Linked DNA regions of Homo sapiens: all the other regions are linked to region 3. Evidence: promoter capture Hi-C in 16 types of primary human blood cells and fetal thymus (Javierre and others, 2016). All regions are on one chromosome and are shown on one strand. Each heading gives the region's core, a stretch centred on a gene start or on the middle of the fragment in contact. The rest is flanking DNA. Distances are from core to core; before and after follow the strand shown. Region 1 overlaps LOC105379137 (a long non-coding RNA gene). Region 2 holds the start of LOC105379137 (a long non-coding RNA gene). Region 3 holds the start of SEMA6A (semaphorin 6A). Region 4 overlaps COMMD10 (COMM domain containing 10).

Region 1 (3,891 bases), core at 968-3,467, 360 kb before region 3:
TCTAACAATATCTAGGACCAGTGATTCCTCCCCTCAGAGCCAAGACTGGGACATGACCAGAACCTGAACACCAGAGCTCTTTCAGAAGCAAGGTGTCCATTGGCCTGGAAGATCTAGGCCAAAAATCTGCCTCAGCGTGCCTTACCATAAATGGTCAAATTTGAAGCCCTCCAATCAGACCCTGCCAAGCCAACATCCCTAAATCCTTTCCGTTGCCCTCTGATTCCTTAAAACTTGCCCCAGAACTTAAACCTGGGAGATAGATTTGATCTTGACTACTGTCTTCTTACTGGCTGGTTTTGCAATAGAGCTTTTCTTTTCTCAAAAGCCAACGCCACTGCGATTGGCTTTTGTGCACATTAGGAAGTGAGCCTATTTGCTCAAGAACACCCTCTTGGGTGGGAATCCACAATCGTGTTTTCTTCTCTTAACTCCTAGAGCATTCAGAAGGTGTAATTTTCCATGTATCATCTTTGACTCTGTGTCTTTTTTAACTTTTTCCTATACATCTGAATATCAAAGACACTCTAAGCATTTGAGGGAACGGAACTATGACTTATTGGTTTTCTGATCCCTTTAACACCTAGCACCCAGTAAGAGCTCAATAAATCTTTGAACGAATGAATGAATGAGCCTGATCAAAGCCGATTAACATATTTGGAGACAACTTGGATGAACCCCTCAGTTCATTATTATCCAATTAGTTGAAGACTTCAGACTGTTAGCTTTCTGAGAACAATTAGAACCACTTAGAAGACTGAGCACCAGATCCTCAACATAGTACATAGAAACCTCTTTGAACAATGGACCCAATTTTCTAGCTTTCCTTATTATCATTTTAGTCTCAGTAAAGCTAAATTGCTTGCATTTTCCCGAACGTACTAGGCTCTTTTTGCTCTTATCATTTTCTTTAACTTTGTTTTATGGATAACTCATACTCATCCTCTAACTCAAAATAAGTGAACATCTTGTGTACAATAAGAAGGTCTTATATAAGTGACCTTCTTACAACTCTAAGAAACCATCCCTAAAACCCACATAGATGTTCCACTTATTTATTACAGTGTAACAATTCCCCCCACTAACCCCACCCCTCAATGAAAAATTCAGTACCTTAAAACTAAATTGCTTTTATTATTTCTCATGGTTCTGTCAGTCGACTAGGCTCATGCAGGGTGTCCCATGAGGTTATAGTTAGATATTAGCTGGCAAAGCAGTCATGGAAACTCTTGACTGGGCTCAGTACCCAAAATGGACTGTTATTATGGCTGGCAGTTGATTCTGGCTATCTGTTGGGAGTTCAGCTGTGGCTACTGATAGGGGCACCTACACAAGGCTTCATCAGGTGGCTTTGGAGTTTCACATCCTGGCAGTGGATTACCCAGAGGAAACACTGCAAATATAAGTATTTCCAGATATGGGAAGTAGAAGCCGCTGGCACTGCACCATATGGTTAGGACCTGCAAACTGGCACAGCATTGCTTCTGCCACATTCTATTAATCAAAGTAGTCACAGAGCCCAACCAGAACTAAAGGACAGGGAACACAGACCCACCTCTCAATAGAGGAATGCCAAAGAACTTGTGGCTGTCTTTTAACTGTCACAATGGTCATATGTGCACTTTTGGACACCTGGATATACCTAGTTTAAAATTTTTAAATTGCAATATGTTGACACTGAAACACTTGGATTCTCACTCTAAGCTTCTTTAGTAAGTGGCAAGCACTGTGCTGAGTAGAAATTACATATCAAGTACATACACATAGATTGAATTAAATTAACATTAGTTTGGGAGAAATAATAAATATTTTGGAAGAGAGACTCAGGATTCAAAAATCTCTAGAGATGAGTATGAGCCAAAACCCATTTTAATTTATACTTCTAGAAAATTACGTACAGTTCTGGTAATAATGGCTTAAGAAAAAAATTGATTGAAGACTTGTAGAAAACACTAATTTTTAAATTACAAACACAATTTTTATAACTTTTTTTGCTTATATCTCTCTTTCCAGATGCAACAAACTCCCTTATTCCTCTTAGTTACCACATTTAACATGTCTAATGTGTTTCCCTCAAATTTCTTCTCACCCACGTATTATTTTCATGCATGCCCAACCAGGCTTCCACCAGCCAGCCTCTGCATCTTTAAAGAGTAGACGTGAGAACTACCAGAGAAAGTCCCTGTCCAATGACTAATGGATGTGGGGGCATAAATATCCCCTCTCCTTTACTCCTTGGCAGGATAATTCTAAGACTTGTTTTACACTACCTTTCTAGAGTTTCTCCATGCAATTATGCTACCCCACTGTGAGAGGTGGCCTAATAATTCACTTGTTATTTTCTCTTTCCTTCCCTACATCAATTCCCCTTGCCCAAGCTAGTGTTCCTTGACTCCCAAATAACTTCTGCACTCAAATTGTTGACTCAAGGTCTACTTCCAGGGGAACCGACACTAAAATAGTCAATGAGCAAACTCTTAAGAAAACAATACATATTTCTTATGGCTAAAGTTTTAGTGAGATACAAGACTAATCTGGCTCAAGTCTGTTCCTCAACAGATTTAAAAACAAAACGTATTTCATAAACAGATCACTACTTGTCACTTGTCAGGGTCAATATTTGTAAGTAACAGGCAGGATTTTAACCCAGTCCCTGAATGCTTACAGGTTCATAGGCTAAAGTAATCACCTAAAAATCAAACACAGATGAACCTAAAAAGGCAAAGCTTTTTTTTTCTTTTTAAAATAACATGACAAAAGTAAGTAAAAGAAAATGGTCCTCCAGAGACTCCAAGCTTTCTCATGACTGCCCTTACTAAAAAAGCTCCACGAGAACCCACACGGGGTTTGGGATGCCAGGGATGAAGGACGTGCCCTGAGGAAGTGGTTTGTGTGGGATGGTCAGACCATGGTGAATAGTATTTAACATGGTTGATATATATGTACCAGATAGTTCTTCAGCTATATAAGGATCTTGGGAATGAATGCTCAGTATGTCAAATTGATCTGTTTCTTTACTCAGTTCCAAGTGTCCATCCCATTTTTTTTTCTCACATACTTGTTGGAGAAAGGCCCGCTGCTCTGGTTTGAAGTATCGAAGGGGAATGAACATGAAGGCCATGGTAGGGACTGTCACCAAACCCTACTGGCTTCCTCTGTGCTAAATGTCCTTGCAGCCAGGCCACTCAGTCTCTGAACAGCACTGTCCTCCACCCCTAGTTTTACCTCCTGTATTCAGGATGCTTGGTAGGCAAGGATGCAGGGCAAGGGCACTAGTGGGAGAGGCCCACCTTACCCAGGACTGCCTCAGTAATCTGGATAGCAAAGGGCCTCACTCAGTGTTCTCTCACACTAGGCTTGGAAGCAGCCTAAGAGCAACTGACTCTTGTGGTCCAACAGCCACCATTTCCATTTCAGGCCCTTGTTCTAGAAGAGACAGTAATGGAAGAAGGAAAACCAGTTTATCCAAAAAGAGGTTGGCTCAAGGTCTCTATAGCCTAGTATGGAATCTCCTTGCCTCTTTGTTGTGGCCAATATCATCTTGGTCACGTCACTTAGTTGCTCTGAGCCTCAGGCTCTTATTTATTGTTTTGTATTTAAATTAGTTCACACTTAGCCTGATACCAGGCTTCTTGGTAAATGGTAAATATCATCTTCTCCTGAAATGTTTAGATAGCCTGCTCAAAATTCAGCTGGGCCTTGTCATACATTTATTAACTAGCTTTGCTCTCAATTCTAAAGCCCTGCCTGGGACTCAGGTGATTTCAGTAGAAGGGGTTTTATTTCTTTTACATTAGAAAATTCTAATGTCCAGGTCTCATCCCATATCAACTGAAATCGAATGTCTACAAAGGAAGTAAAACTTGTCAAGGTTCTCCAGGCGACTCAAAT
Region 2 (4,224 bases), core at 159-2,658, 380 kb before region 3:
TCCACTTATTCCTCAAAGCTAGTATAAAAAATACACGGGTTCTTCCATTTCTTCTGGTCTTCATTTCCTTATGAAGGCTCCTATGTCATGTAAAACTTATATTATAAATAAATGTCATGCTTCCCTTTTGTTAATTTGTCTTTTGTTGTAGGGACCCATTCATAAATCTGGATGGGTTCAGAAAAGATATATCTCCTCCCCTACAATGAAGCGATATAAATGAATGCAAATAATGAATAAACTAGGTATTTCTTAATGAACTTCAGTGGCAGCAAGCAATATACACATTAAATAGCCTCCCAAAAAAGCAAAAACAGCTTAGTAAATTATCTCAGCAGCTTATTATCAGGCAGCAAAGAGGACCCAAAAAAGCATAAAACTATACACTGGGAACCTAACACATTGACAAAGCAGTAATGTTTAAAAAAAAAAAAAACAGCTGAGATGAAGATTATGAGAAAGTAGGTTGTAGAGCACAGAAAACAAACAAAAAAAGGAAAGGCATACAAAACTTGGAGAACAGTGGGCAAGAAGAGGCAAAGGAAATCCATACATAAAACAAAAAATGTGAGCATGAGAATTTGTAGAAAAGACCAGGGGCTTGATTTAACACTGAAGGAAACAGCTTTCAGGATTAGGAGTTCTTCAGCTAAGAGCTGGTTTACTTTTAATTGAGCCACACACAAACGAAGAGGTAAAAAGGTGCCAAAAGCTAGAGTCAATATAAAATGAAAGAATAAAGTAAGTACTTTTATTGTTAAATAAATGGCCCCTAACTAGGCCATTTTTGAAAATTTCTGTTTCACTCATGTGATACAAATAATTGAAACAGCATCTGTGGTTTCTTCCCTAAGCTCCGGACTCTCCTTCTCTGTGTCCCCCTTCCTTCTTTATCCCTTTCCCTTTCCATCTGCCTTCTTGATGAATTTCATTGTTATGGCTATTTGCCTACCATCACCATTTCTTTATTATTGTACCTTGTTTGTACAAAAGGAGTCCTTGCTGTTATTTTATTTTCATTAATGCCTCCATCTTGAAATTTTCAAAAATGCAGTTTTAAACAGAGGATGCTCCCAGATTTGCCCTTGCACCATGACAGAGAACATTTCAGCCCTAGCCAGTGGTGTGCCCATGGAAACTGGGAGTCATTGTATCCTAGGAAACTATGGCAACCAACAGAGACAAACTGAAAACAGCCCATTGTCATCATTTTTAACGAGTCAAAGATGTGAGTATCCTCTACAATGAATTCAACTGTCATTTGCCAAAGAGAAGATGCAATTCAAATTGGCTCCAATAATTAGAACAGATAAGTATTTGAAAGCATACATATATGATTGATTTTATTCCTATTGTTCTTTAACAATAAACACTTATTAAGTGTGTTCCACAAATAACTAGGAAAATCAACAGATATAATCAGCTCTTATGAGCAACTTCTTCCACATTATTATTAAATACGTTGCACTATCCGATGTTCTAGCGATTTATCTGCGTACACAGATAAGTGGTTGTTATCACAGCACAAAGATGCTCAGAGATAATCCTGATTTCTTCTGTGGTTTTGTGCATCAAAAATTACTTGAATAATGAATTTAGATTCTTACTGTTTAGTGTTGGTTTATCCACTTTGGGCTCCCAATTATATTGAGAATCTTCTTCAGACTCTACTAAATAGTTTAGCTGTCTAATCAAACCAAGTTAATGAGAGGCCATATAGGTCATCCATGTAGATATAGCAACTATTATTTTGACAAATGAGTTTACAGCATGAAAGAAGAACTCCCACTGCATTGCAGTTTGTTTGAGTTCATTTATTTTGCATATCCTGTGTAGTTTAATTCCAAAACTTTTCTCCCCAAGGAAATCTGGGTCATATCTTTCATTTTTCCTTACAAAAATAGAGCTGGGTAAAATAATGTTTACAAGAACTCTTCATGCATGTGTGTGTGTGTGTGTGTATGTGTGTGTGAATGTGTGTGTGAGTGTGCATACACATGCATATGTATTTATTATTTTGAATTTAAACTTTTTTTACATGTCAAATGATATTTATTAAAATTTAGTTGCTCCCAGAAAACAAAGGTTAGAGAATAGAGTGGCATATTGGTGACGGTGATTTGCAATCTTAAAAGTGTACCCCCACAAGTAAAGTGCTACACAAAGAAAAGAAGCAAAAGATTCTAGACAAGAAACAACTATTATTTGCAGAACTCATGCATTTGCTAAACTCTGGTCTGTTCCTTGGTTAAAGCAGGAAACCAGAAAAGTGAAACATATATTCTAAGTATTTCAACTTAAATATGTAAAACAAAGTAATTCACAAATATTTCGTTAAAGCCTTTTGTTTGATAATGAGTCCACTGATTAGTTTCCTACCGTCTTCTTGGAGTAATGCATTATCTATAATCCCAAATTTTAGTTCTTTAAAAAAATTGAAAACTCAATATTCTGTGGAACAATGTAAGTATAAAATCTTTACAGATTTTTACATATTTAAATCTTTCACCATTTTCTTGCTGACATCTATTTTGACAGCATTATTTATTAGCAAATTACTTTTCCAAATATGTATTTCACAGATGATATTTCCTTAATTCTAAATGTATTCATCCATTTACATAATATGCAATTAAATCATATAATTCTTAAAACAGCCAACTGGAATTAACAAATTTGGGAAACAAGCAAAGTGATTACTGGTAAGTATAATCAGAATTATACAGACATACTAGGGAGTGGCCTGTTATCCATGAACATTCAGAGTAGCATGAGAAATACTGTGTATGTTTTAGAGAAGAAATTAAGGTACAGATTGGTTGTGTTGAGACTAGTGAAAAGAGTTACTACTGTATATACTCAATTGTGGGGTGGGTAGTAGCAGCTGTAGAGGTTATACCTTTTGTGGTATACAGGTTCCCCAAGAGGGTGTAGAGATTGGACCAGATTTAGGTCCAATAGGATAGATTTAGGAGAACGTCATAAACAGGACTGGAGTAACCTATACTCAAATCTATATTTTATTTAAGTGTAGATAAAAAGGTACAAAATAAAGTACTGGGCCCACTCAAAAATAGTAGAGACCAAGAGAGCAAAAATAACATTCTGAAAATTCAGAGGAAAAAGATGCCTTTGAAAAATGATCTCTAGTATGGAGAAGAAAGTTCCAGGAAATTGCATGCTCAGCATAATGCAAAAATAATCATAATAATAAAGCTGAGGAGGAACTTGTAAGAGATACAATAGATAAAAAAAAAAGAGCATAACTTACTAGGGAATTAATGGCTTAAAATAAAAACAATAAAATTCATTTTGGAGTCAACAAAGGGAAAGACTATGTGAAAAATCTAATGAGCGATAGAGAGGAAAATCTCAAGGAGGTTTCCCAAAATTCAGAAGAAAACAATGACGAAGTTTATAGATAGAAAAGAGAAACAAAATTAAACATAAACAATTTGGGTTCTCAAAGAACATAATGGAACAAGTGGAACAAAAAACAATACTGACATATATAATAGAAGAAATTTTTCCTAAGCTGACAAAAAGATTCATTTATGTAGAGAAAAGCTCATTATATCCTTTGGGGAAAAAACAAAACAAAAACATGTTAATATTGTTTTTGCCCTTTTTCATCTTTTCCTATTTTGTTTACAAGTTTAAGCTTTCTTCATACCCAAATCTCATCTATGAAGCCTTTATTTTTAAAATAGTTTTCCACCTCAGCCAAACTTAATTGCTCGTTCAGCCTCACTTCAGCCAAACTTAATTGCTCGTTCAGCTATCAGCATTTAAAAGTCTTTTCCTTAGCTTTAGAGCATAAGAAAGTTAAATTTTATAATTTCTCATTCGTTACTGTCAGTATATATGATGCTTTGTACTATTCAAACAGAGAATAAAGATTCTTTCCATTGATCTTGAGGTATTACAAAATACCTCAATAAATGCTCAGTAGTAAAAATAGATCATATTTCTTAATAAAAATAGTAAATGAATTTGAAAATTAGGACAAAACAAAACAGAAATCTCTCAAAACTATTATTTTAAATGATTGTTGACCCAAGAAGAAAATCAATGCTTTAATTACAATCAATTCAGAAACTTTATTTTTTATTTTTATTCATTTTTATTTTTTAAGACAGAGTTTCACTCTTGTTGCCCAGGCTGGAGTGCCACGGTGCCATCTTGGCTCACTGCAACCTCCTCCTCCCGGGTTCAAGCAATTCT
Region 3 (4,327 bases), core at 212-2,711:
AGAGGCCTTTGCCCGAGAAAGGTGGGGATAGCGGCCCCTGCTGACAGCTCTGGAGAACAGCAGGGGTACTGATTTTTTCTTTTTTTCCTACCATTCTCCCTACCTTTTCCAGGTGGTGGTAGTGGTGCGGGGGGAATGGGTGTTGACCCATGTGCATTTATTCTTCGTGAAGCCTCTTAAGCAGATGTCTGTACTTAGAGAAGCGACCAAAGAGGGAACGTGGACTTATTAGTGGTCTTAGTCCCAATTAGGGAACAGGTACAGTTTCCAATATAAAGAAACTCGGCCTAAGTGGGACTGAGACCCCGATCTCCGCACTTGCTTTTCTCAGCCAACTCCATGACTAGTAAATATCTCTCCGAGAACTGCTGGGCCGCCCGATGTTACTTTGTTTAAAGGTTGCGACTAGGATCCGTACCATCTGCGAAGCCCCCTTGGGGAGCAAGAGCCGCGGCGCGCAGTTGATTTCGGGGCGCAGCGGCAGGGGGAGGGGAACGTGGTGTGGCCCGACGAGTTGGCACAAGCCTGTAACTGCAAGACTTTGTAGCTATTGAAAGTTCAAGTGGTGAAAGAAGGCTGTGCCTGCCATTCTTCATGTGATCATAACAATAGCGCCTTGGAAGTGGTTGCGATTTTCTTCTTCCATAAACCTTTTGGGTTCTCACTGGAATTGTATGCGTGTTATTTCTGAAGTTTACTTATTTCTAAGACCAGTCCACAAAATGTGAACTTCATTAAGTTTTAAAATAGATCGCCGTCGTTAAAAACGCCATTCTCTGCACTGTAGTTTATTTGCTTACTTCACATGCTTTATTAACGTGTGTATGTGCGTAATTAATAGCTGTGTTCTTATCTTCCAAGTGTATTTTTAACCGCACCGGCTTCTATCCAATTCATCTAACTACGTAGAGCGTCCATCGCTTCTGGAATCTACCTCTTGATAACAGTAATCAGAATCAGAAAAGCTCGCCGTTCACTTACCCTCATCCTTTAAAACTTTTCCATTTAAGAAAATCGATGAACAAAACCTTTCTTGTAACTCGCTCCTGCACTACGTCTATTTTTATTTATTTTTCTGATTTGGCAGGACTCAGCAATGCTGTCCGGGATTTTTTTTTTCTTTTTTTTTTTCCTAGCTAGAGCAGATGTGGGGGTGGGGGAGGTGAGGGCTGGGCTCCAGCCAGAGTCGCCCCCGCTGAGCCTCCGCCTAGCGCGCGGTGGGGCCAGGAATCCTGGTGGAAGGAAGCGGCGCTGGCCAGTTGGTCCAAGGCTCCACCTGCAGCCACACCGCGTAGTTTCTCCGCCTCTGCCTCGCTCACTCGCACTCACATACACCACAGCTCTCCTTTGGGTCGGAGGAGACGCCAGCCAAAGTAGGCGGAGTTGCGGAAGGAGAGTCCGATCTGCGCAATCCAGTCCGGGACTTGGCTCCGCCCGGGAGCGGCGGCCTCTCCGGTGACAGAGGAGTAGTGAGCGGCACGGGGTGAGGCTGCAGCCAACTCCGCTCCCCGCGCACTCGGCTGCCCAGGCGCTCGGAACCCAGCAGCGGCGCTCCTCCGCGGTGCCGGTCGCCCGCGATGCCCGCTTAGCAGCGTGTAGCAGCGGCCAGCATCACCACACCCGCGGCACCGCGCTGCCGGCCGCAGAGCCGGGCCAGAGCCTTGCACCCCTGCCCCAGCCCCCACCCCGCCCCCCGCCCTGAAATGACTTGTTAATCGGCGCAGACACCACCAAGGGGACTCACCGAAGTGGAATCCAAGTGGAATTTGGATTTGGAGAAGAGTTTCTTGAACATTTACCCTCTTCCTTGTTGGTTTTCTTTTTCTTTTTCTTCTTTTTTTTTTTGGCTTCTTTTTTCCTCTCCCCTTCTCCGCTCGTCATTGGAGATGAACACATCGCGTTTGCATCCCAGAAAGTAGTCGCCGCGACTATTTCCCCCAAAGAGACAAGCACACATGTAGGAATGACAAAGGCTTGCGAAGGAGAGAGCGCAGCCCGCGGCCCGGAGAGATCCCCTCGATAATGGATTACTAAATGGGATACACGCTGTACCAGTTCGCTCCGAGCCCCGGCCGCCTGTCCGTCGATGCACCGAAAAGGTACGCCCCGGGCGCCCGGGCGCGCCCCACCTCCCGGGCAGCTGGACTCCAGCCTGAGGGTCCCGGGGCCGTGGCTAGCGCGTGCTGTCGGCTTTGTGGTGCCTGCGTTTTATTTTGTCTTGTGTCTCTGTTTCCCGAGCCTTGCCCGGTCCTGGGGGAGCAGCCGTGAGCCCTGCCTGCCTTTCCTCTCTGCCCTGCGCCCCAGAGTGCGTCCGGCTCCACGTCGAGAGCTTTCCCACCCGCGTTGCGCACACGCCCGGCGCCGCCCCGGGCCGCGACGGCGCGTATGGCTGTTCCTCCTGGGGGTGTGTGTGCGAGACCCAAGGCTCATCCTCCCGCGTGCCCAGCAGGGAGCAGAGCGGGCCCTAAATGGTGGGATTCTCGGAAGCTCCCTGGCCCGGTGTGTCGAAGGCAGGGGAAGGGGTTCTGCCCTCGAGGGCTGGAGGGGGTTGGGTATAACAGCGCTGTTTTCGTCCAGTGCCAGGTGGGAGAAGGGGTTCCGCGGAGACGGTGTGGAAGCGGAGAGAATCTTTTGTTGTCAGTGTGGGGTCTGGGCTGGGCTCCGTGGAGTGCAAGAAACTTGTAATGGCTCTAGGCACCCGCGCGCCCTGTCTCTCGGTGAGATCCTGGCTCCTGTGGCCGCTGCCACCAGAGGTTCCGGGCTTTGTTTGCTCGAATAAGTGTCCGGGAGCAGCCGTTCGGGTGACGCGGCGCCCCCGCCATGGGTCCTGTCCCCCGCCGCAGCTCCCAACCCGAGCGGCAAGGATATAGCCCGTCGCGGCTGCGTCCCTCCTGAAGCACCGAGCCCTTTGCACCGGGCTGGCGCACGGTACGCCCTCCTCCCAGATCAGCGCGGTCTCGCTCTGGAAAGATGACCCAGGAGGGGGAAGGGTGAGAGACCTGGCAGAAGATGGCCCTGGGTTTGAAACCCAGACTAGGGCTCTGTTCCGACTCCTCACTGTGTCCTAGGGCGCTACCATGGGGGCAATGGGGCGCTGGAGAGTAAGCCGGGCAGTGCCCACCCACCCTGCCTGATCCTTCTGGGGCGGGAAGTGTCTCTTGTCCCGATTCTCCGCGTTTTGCTCAGCTCCTCGCTGTGGGAGATGGTGCAAAACAGGATCCTGAGGTCTCCTCCCTCCTCGCAAGACCCGAGCGGCACGGGGGGAGCCAGGGAGCGGTCCCGGGCTTGTGGACGTCGGGAAAGGAAACAGAATTCCGCTGTTTTTCCCGCTCCCTCGCCGCCCCTCCGCCCAGCGCCTCCTCCCACTTTACAGCGGCGGGGTCACTAGACCAGGCGCTCCTGGAAAGTTTCCCTGAAAGCCAGGGGCGGCAGGCACGACCGGACTGGGGCTCAGCATGTGCAGTCTGAGGGAAGCCGGACCTGGAGGGAATCATGCGGACAGCTCGGGATGCAGCTAGGAGCTAGATCCCGGCCCTTTGGAGAGTGGAACCTCCTGGCCCGCGGTACTTGCTCGACAAGTCGGGGAAGGGATGAATGGGGAAGCAGGACCCCGGAGGCAGGTGCGGCCACTGTGGACAGAGGCTGTGGGGAAGGTGCGTGTGGACACAGGCCGGGGCTCAGTGGCTTGCAAGTAGGCAGCTTCAGGTGCAGAATCCCGAGCCATCTGCTCCCTGCGCACGATTTCCCAGCGTGGCTATCCAGGGAGGGAGGAAGCAGAGCCAGGTGTGCGTGGAGCGGGAGAGGAATGGGAGACTGGAGGCGCTGTCTTCACAGCCGGGGCAAGCACTTCCAGGGAGTCTCCGGCCTGTATCGCACTGGGGAGCCCTGCAGGCTTTTTCGCGTCGGTCTTTGGGAGAAAGGTGGCTGCTTTGGAACTGCGGTGGCCAGGCACAGCCACAGTGGGATCGCTCCTTTTTTTACGCTCAGCTTTTTTACGCTACTGAATGCGATCTGTGAAAGGTTTAAAACACAGGCGTGCATGGACACACACACGCACACACTCGCCCTTGTACGCACAACTTTCTTTACCTCAGATCTGAAAAGCCGTTTAACCCACTTGCAGTGTTGTGCCAGCAGGTCTCAGAAAAGCTATTTAATGCCCCCCAGCGCTGGTTTTTAAGTCTTGCCAGGATGGGAAGGTCGAGTGCCTTTGCCTTGTCTTTCTTTAGTCCTGAAATTGTTCGTCGTCCTTCCCCTGGTGGACACATCTTGGGCATCAAGTCTGTGGTATGCTACAGTGATGGCGGGGAGGACTGGTGGTTTAATT
Region 4 (4,005 bases), core at 89-2,588, 440 kb after region 3:
CAAGTTGTTCTGAAATTAATAATAAAGTAAAATCCTGTGGTATAAAAAAAATTGTAGGCCGGGCGCGGTGGCTCACGCCTGTAATCCCAGCACTTTGGGAGGCTGAGGGGGGTGGATCACAAGGTCAGGGGATCGAGACCATCCTGGCTAACACGGTGAAACCCCATCTCTACTAAAAATACAAAAAATTAGCCGGACAAGGTGGCAGGCGCCTGTAGTCCCAGCTACTCGGGAGGCTGAGGCAGGAGAATGGCGTGAACCCCAGGGGGCGGAGCCTGCAGTGAGCCGAGATCGCGCCACTGCACTCCAACCTGGGCGACAGCAAGACACCGTCTCAAAAAAAATAAATAAATTGTATTTCTCAAAAGCTGGGATTTAAACACATGCAGGCATACTATACTACTACACACACAAAAACACAATTCAGGTCACCATCATATTTATTGTTCCAGGCTCTAGCTGGACAACAAACAATATTCTCTCTACCACATATATTCAGCTTAAAACATGAAACACTCAGGAATATCTGCAAATACCTAAAACATTAAAATCATAATTTTATATGGTCTTCAACAATTTTTTTTCACTGCAGAATTTAAAAGAAGACATTATGAAATGTTTTTGTAAGAAAGGCACCTTGCAAGATAAGCTATTTCTGTCAAAAAAGATCCACTTATTAATAACTGTTTAACTGAATTATGTTTAAATTCTAAATCCAGAGAGCAAAGACTGCTAAGAATAAAAAGTTTAAGTCCTAACAAACAAAATACATCCTTTTAATGGGATACCATTTCTTACCTTTGAATCTTCATTGTTCACTCCGAGTTGTAACACAGCTTGAGGAGATTTTAGTTTTGCTTGAGCAGAGTGAGCCATCTGAAGGTTAAGCTGCCATCCAACGGTCTCTAGCTATAAAAGACAGGTGCAGATTGGAATCAGATGGTACAGAAGGAAGAAAACAGTCAACTTTAAGCAAATCTCCACTCAGCAGGAATGTATATGGATAGCCTAGGCTTCACAGAAAGTCAGTTCCAGGGCTCTTTTAACCTGCATACTCTGCGAATTCTCCCTTTGGGCTTATTAGATTGGCCTCCTGCCACGCCTGTCAAATTTAACAGCAAAAGTCATCTTTAAATATACTCTATTCTAAAAATAAAAAATTCTAATACCAAGCAATGAAATATATTAAAAGAGCCAATGGTTTTTAAATATTAAATAGTAAATTACTATTTTAAAATAGTATTTTTTAAAACTAATGATTTTTAAATAGTTACAAATTTCAACTAGTAAATTGCATAAATTGGTGAAAAGCACTTTAATGACTTCCCACTATCTTCCAAAATCTTTGCGTAGGTACTATACAGGTAAGATTTGCTTTTTTTCTTTTTAATTTAGAGGGAAACTAAAGTATCCAGATGGTAAGAGGTTCACACCTTTAGACACAATGAGATTGAAACAGGCAGAGAATTGATATCTACTACCCAGCAAGTGTTACGCAACAGACTATCATACTTTCCAAGGTACTCTTACTATCGTTCCCAGTTATGACAGAAACTAATCAGAACATTTCCTTTGAATTTATTAGTTAATACAACAGCAAAATTTTAATCAAGTAAGACAAAAATAGTAAAGGAAGACTAAGGCAGAGTAACTTTTCTTATAAAGTATTGAGCACAGATGTGACTTTATACTGAACTTCACAGCTCTATGGTGCCTCCAGCTTCAGAAGTGTAAGGTTTTAGATTTAATTTCCTGTAAATCTCAAGTATCAATATTTAGGGAAGTTTTGTGAAATGCAATTGTCATATGCCTCTGAGAACATGACCCTAATAATAGATTTAGTAAAACTACCTTAGCAATACTGGGTAAGAATGGCAGGCTCACAATTTTTCCTTGACTAGAATACTAATCACTTAATTTGAAAGACTGTTCAACAGCTAGAATCACAGCAGTGACTCAAAGCCAAGTTGGAAAGACAGCAATGGAAGTATTATCTATTTGAGAGAGGATGTGATGAGAAAATAAAGATACAGTTCTGTTCCTTCTGGCACTAAGCCTTTTAGAGGTTATGGGTAAAAAGAAGGAAGATGTTGTAGAGATATAATCTATAATATCTCTATAATAACTAATAAAAAATCAATTTCATGGTACATGTTAAGTAAGGATTCTTTACATACTGATCTTTAACACTGATTACAGCAAGCATAGTCTCTGATACCAGCCTGCCACTATTATCAAGTCCCATGCAATAGACTCTCCAATAAAATAGGAATAAATGTCATAACCATTCTCATATATAAAAAAGCACTGGCATACATGCCGTCTTAATTGAAAAGCACTTTCTAGGTATTTATATAGACCTGTAAAATGTTGCATTTACCTTATTTAATTGATCCTATCCCTCTCCATTAGGCACTTAACATAACTAATGAAGAGAGATATCAAGTGAATAAATTAAAACTCACACCCCACTGTGATCAGGCCTTGATATTAACTAATGTATGCTTAGGCACTGCATAGAGATGATGCAGACAAATTAAAAAGAACCCTATATTTGAAGTTTATGATTTGGTTCATGCTTAAACTATCACCAGCTATGTGACCGTGGCTAAGCCACAATCTTTCAAGATCTCAATTTCCTCATATAAAATGGAAATAAATCCATCTGAACTACCTACTTTTCTGGGTTACTGATAATATCCAATAACATGCACACCTAAAGGATTTTGGAAACTATAAAGTATTATAAATATAAGGCATTTTGGTCACCTAATTTGTTCTACAGTATCTTCTAAATATTTTTCAAATATTTTCCAAAATTCATGACTCATTTCAGATTCTCATCATCCACATATTCCCAGACTATCACAATAGTCTTCTAACTGGGCTACCTGCCTCCTATAGAACCTCGTCCCATCATCCCACTTCCCTTCTTAAAATTCTCCAATAGCTCCTTACTACCTACAAAATAAAATCCAAACTCTATATACAAAACCCCTCAGGATGGGATAACAACCTTTCCACTCCTACGTTCTAAAACATATTACTAATTATCTATAATTTAGCCACAGTGAAACAAATAAGATTCCCAAAACATACTATGCTGTTTCACATGCCTCTTCTTTGACTCCAGTGTCACCTCCTCTGTTATTTTTTCCTTTCCCTTCCCTCTGTAGTCTGCTACTCTGTTCCCTCAGCACTCTGCATCTTTCTCTATTAACATTTAGATCAGTGTATTGCAATAATTTGTCTACATGTCTATCTCCTCAGAGTAGAGTGCAATCTCCATTAGGAGACAGCTGGAGTCTTATTCACCTTTATATCCTTGTGACCTACAACAGCCTCTGACAGAGTCAACACTAAAGATTCCTCTCAGACAAGTGATCAATCACATAACATATACAAACTTTCAAGGAGAAGTATTCACATGAAAATGAATGTATGAAAGAGGAAGAAAAAAAGTTGTATTTCCACTTGGCTATGGCTTTGGTAGGAGGCAGGACTGCAACCTATAGAGCTAATATTTGGTTGGTTCTTCACATACACATACATACATACATACATACATACACACATACACACACACACACATACCCCTCCCACCTGTCACACATACAATATTATCTGCAGGCCAAAGCATGTCCAGAAATCCTTTTTATAATGAGTAAACATTACCCTAGCTTTCATTTGGTTTGCTAAAGTAGCAGCTGAGTGTGGGCTGTGAAGTTCCATACTAATTGACCTTAAGCAAGTTACATATTCTATTCACCTCTTTGGGCCTCGATATTCTCATCTGCAAAATGGACACAATAAGACCTGCCTCACTAAGTTGTAAAGGGTTAAATGATACATTGTCAAATATTGAGTTAGTGGCACCTCCTTTCCCAATTTCTCCAATTAAGTGTTCTGTCCAATCAGTATATTCTTTCCCCAACTAGATACGTGTATATTTGTAATATTGCCATGAGTTAGCCTTCTTTGTTGATATTATAAATTGTCTTTGGA

Evidence for each region. Contacts are between HindIII fragments. The CHiCAGO score rates a contact against its expected background, and 5 or more counts as called.
Region 1: a contact is called between a fragment that was not itself captured here and the fragment with the promoter of SEMA6A in region 3, in 1 of 17 cell types (megakaryocytes). The highest score is 6.2, in megakaryocytes.
Region 2: a contact is called between a fragment that was not itself captured here and the fragment with the promoter of SEMA6A in region 3, in 2 of 17 cell types (megakaryocytes and erythroblasts). The highest score is 7.1, in megakaryocytes.
Region 4: a fragment that was not itself captured here is called in contact with the fragment with the promoter of SEMA6A in region 3 in 5 of 17 cell types (neutrophils, megakaryocytes, endothelial precursors and 2 more); the score reaches 8.0 in neutrophils.

Annotation. Positions count from the first base shown.
Region 1 is chr5:116,933,332-116,937,222 of GRCh38, reverse strand. All of the region lies in intron 1 of LOC105379137 (a long non-coding RNA gene), which reads left to right. Among named protein-coding and RNA genes, the nearest start is that of LINC02214, 170 kb to the right of the region's middle. The HindIII fragment of the contact is 1,022 bases long and covers 1,707-2,728 here.
Region 2 is chr5:116,950,380-116,954,603 of GRCh38, reverse strand. LOC105379137 (a long non-coding RNA gene) reads left to right here and starts at 1,177. Exons shown (of 3, transcript XR_948694.3): 1 at 1,177-1,228. The HindIII fragment of the contact is 4,510 bases long and covers 1-3,663 here.
Region 3 is chr5:116,571,957-116,576,283 of GRCh38, reverse strand. It overlaps SEMA6A (semaphorin 6A), which reads left to right and starts at 1,461. Exons shown (of 19, transcript NM_020796.5): 1 at 1,461-2,099. It overlaps SEMA6A-AS2 (SEMA6A antisense RNA 2), which reads right to left and starts at 1,866. Exons shown (of 3, transcript NR_147170.1): 1 at 1,745-1,866. RefSeq lists a silencer at 1,626-1,705 and an enhancer at 3,403-4,184. The HindIII fragment of the contact is 8,307 bases long and covers 1-4,327 here.
Region 4 is chr5:116,130,972-116,134,976 of GRCh38, reverse strand. It overlaps COMMD10 (COMM domain containing 10), which reads right to left. Exons shown (of 7, transcript NM_016144.4): 5 at 799-909. Among named protein-coding and RNA genes, the nearest start is that of COMMD10, 48 kb to the right of the region's middle. The HindIII fragment of the contact is 7,435 bases long and covers 1-4,005 here.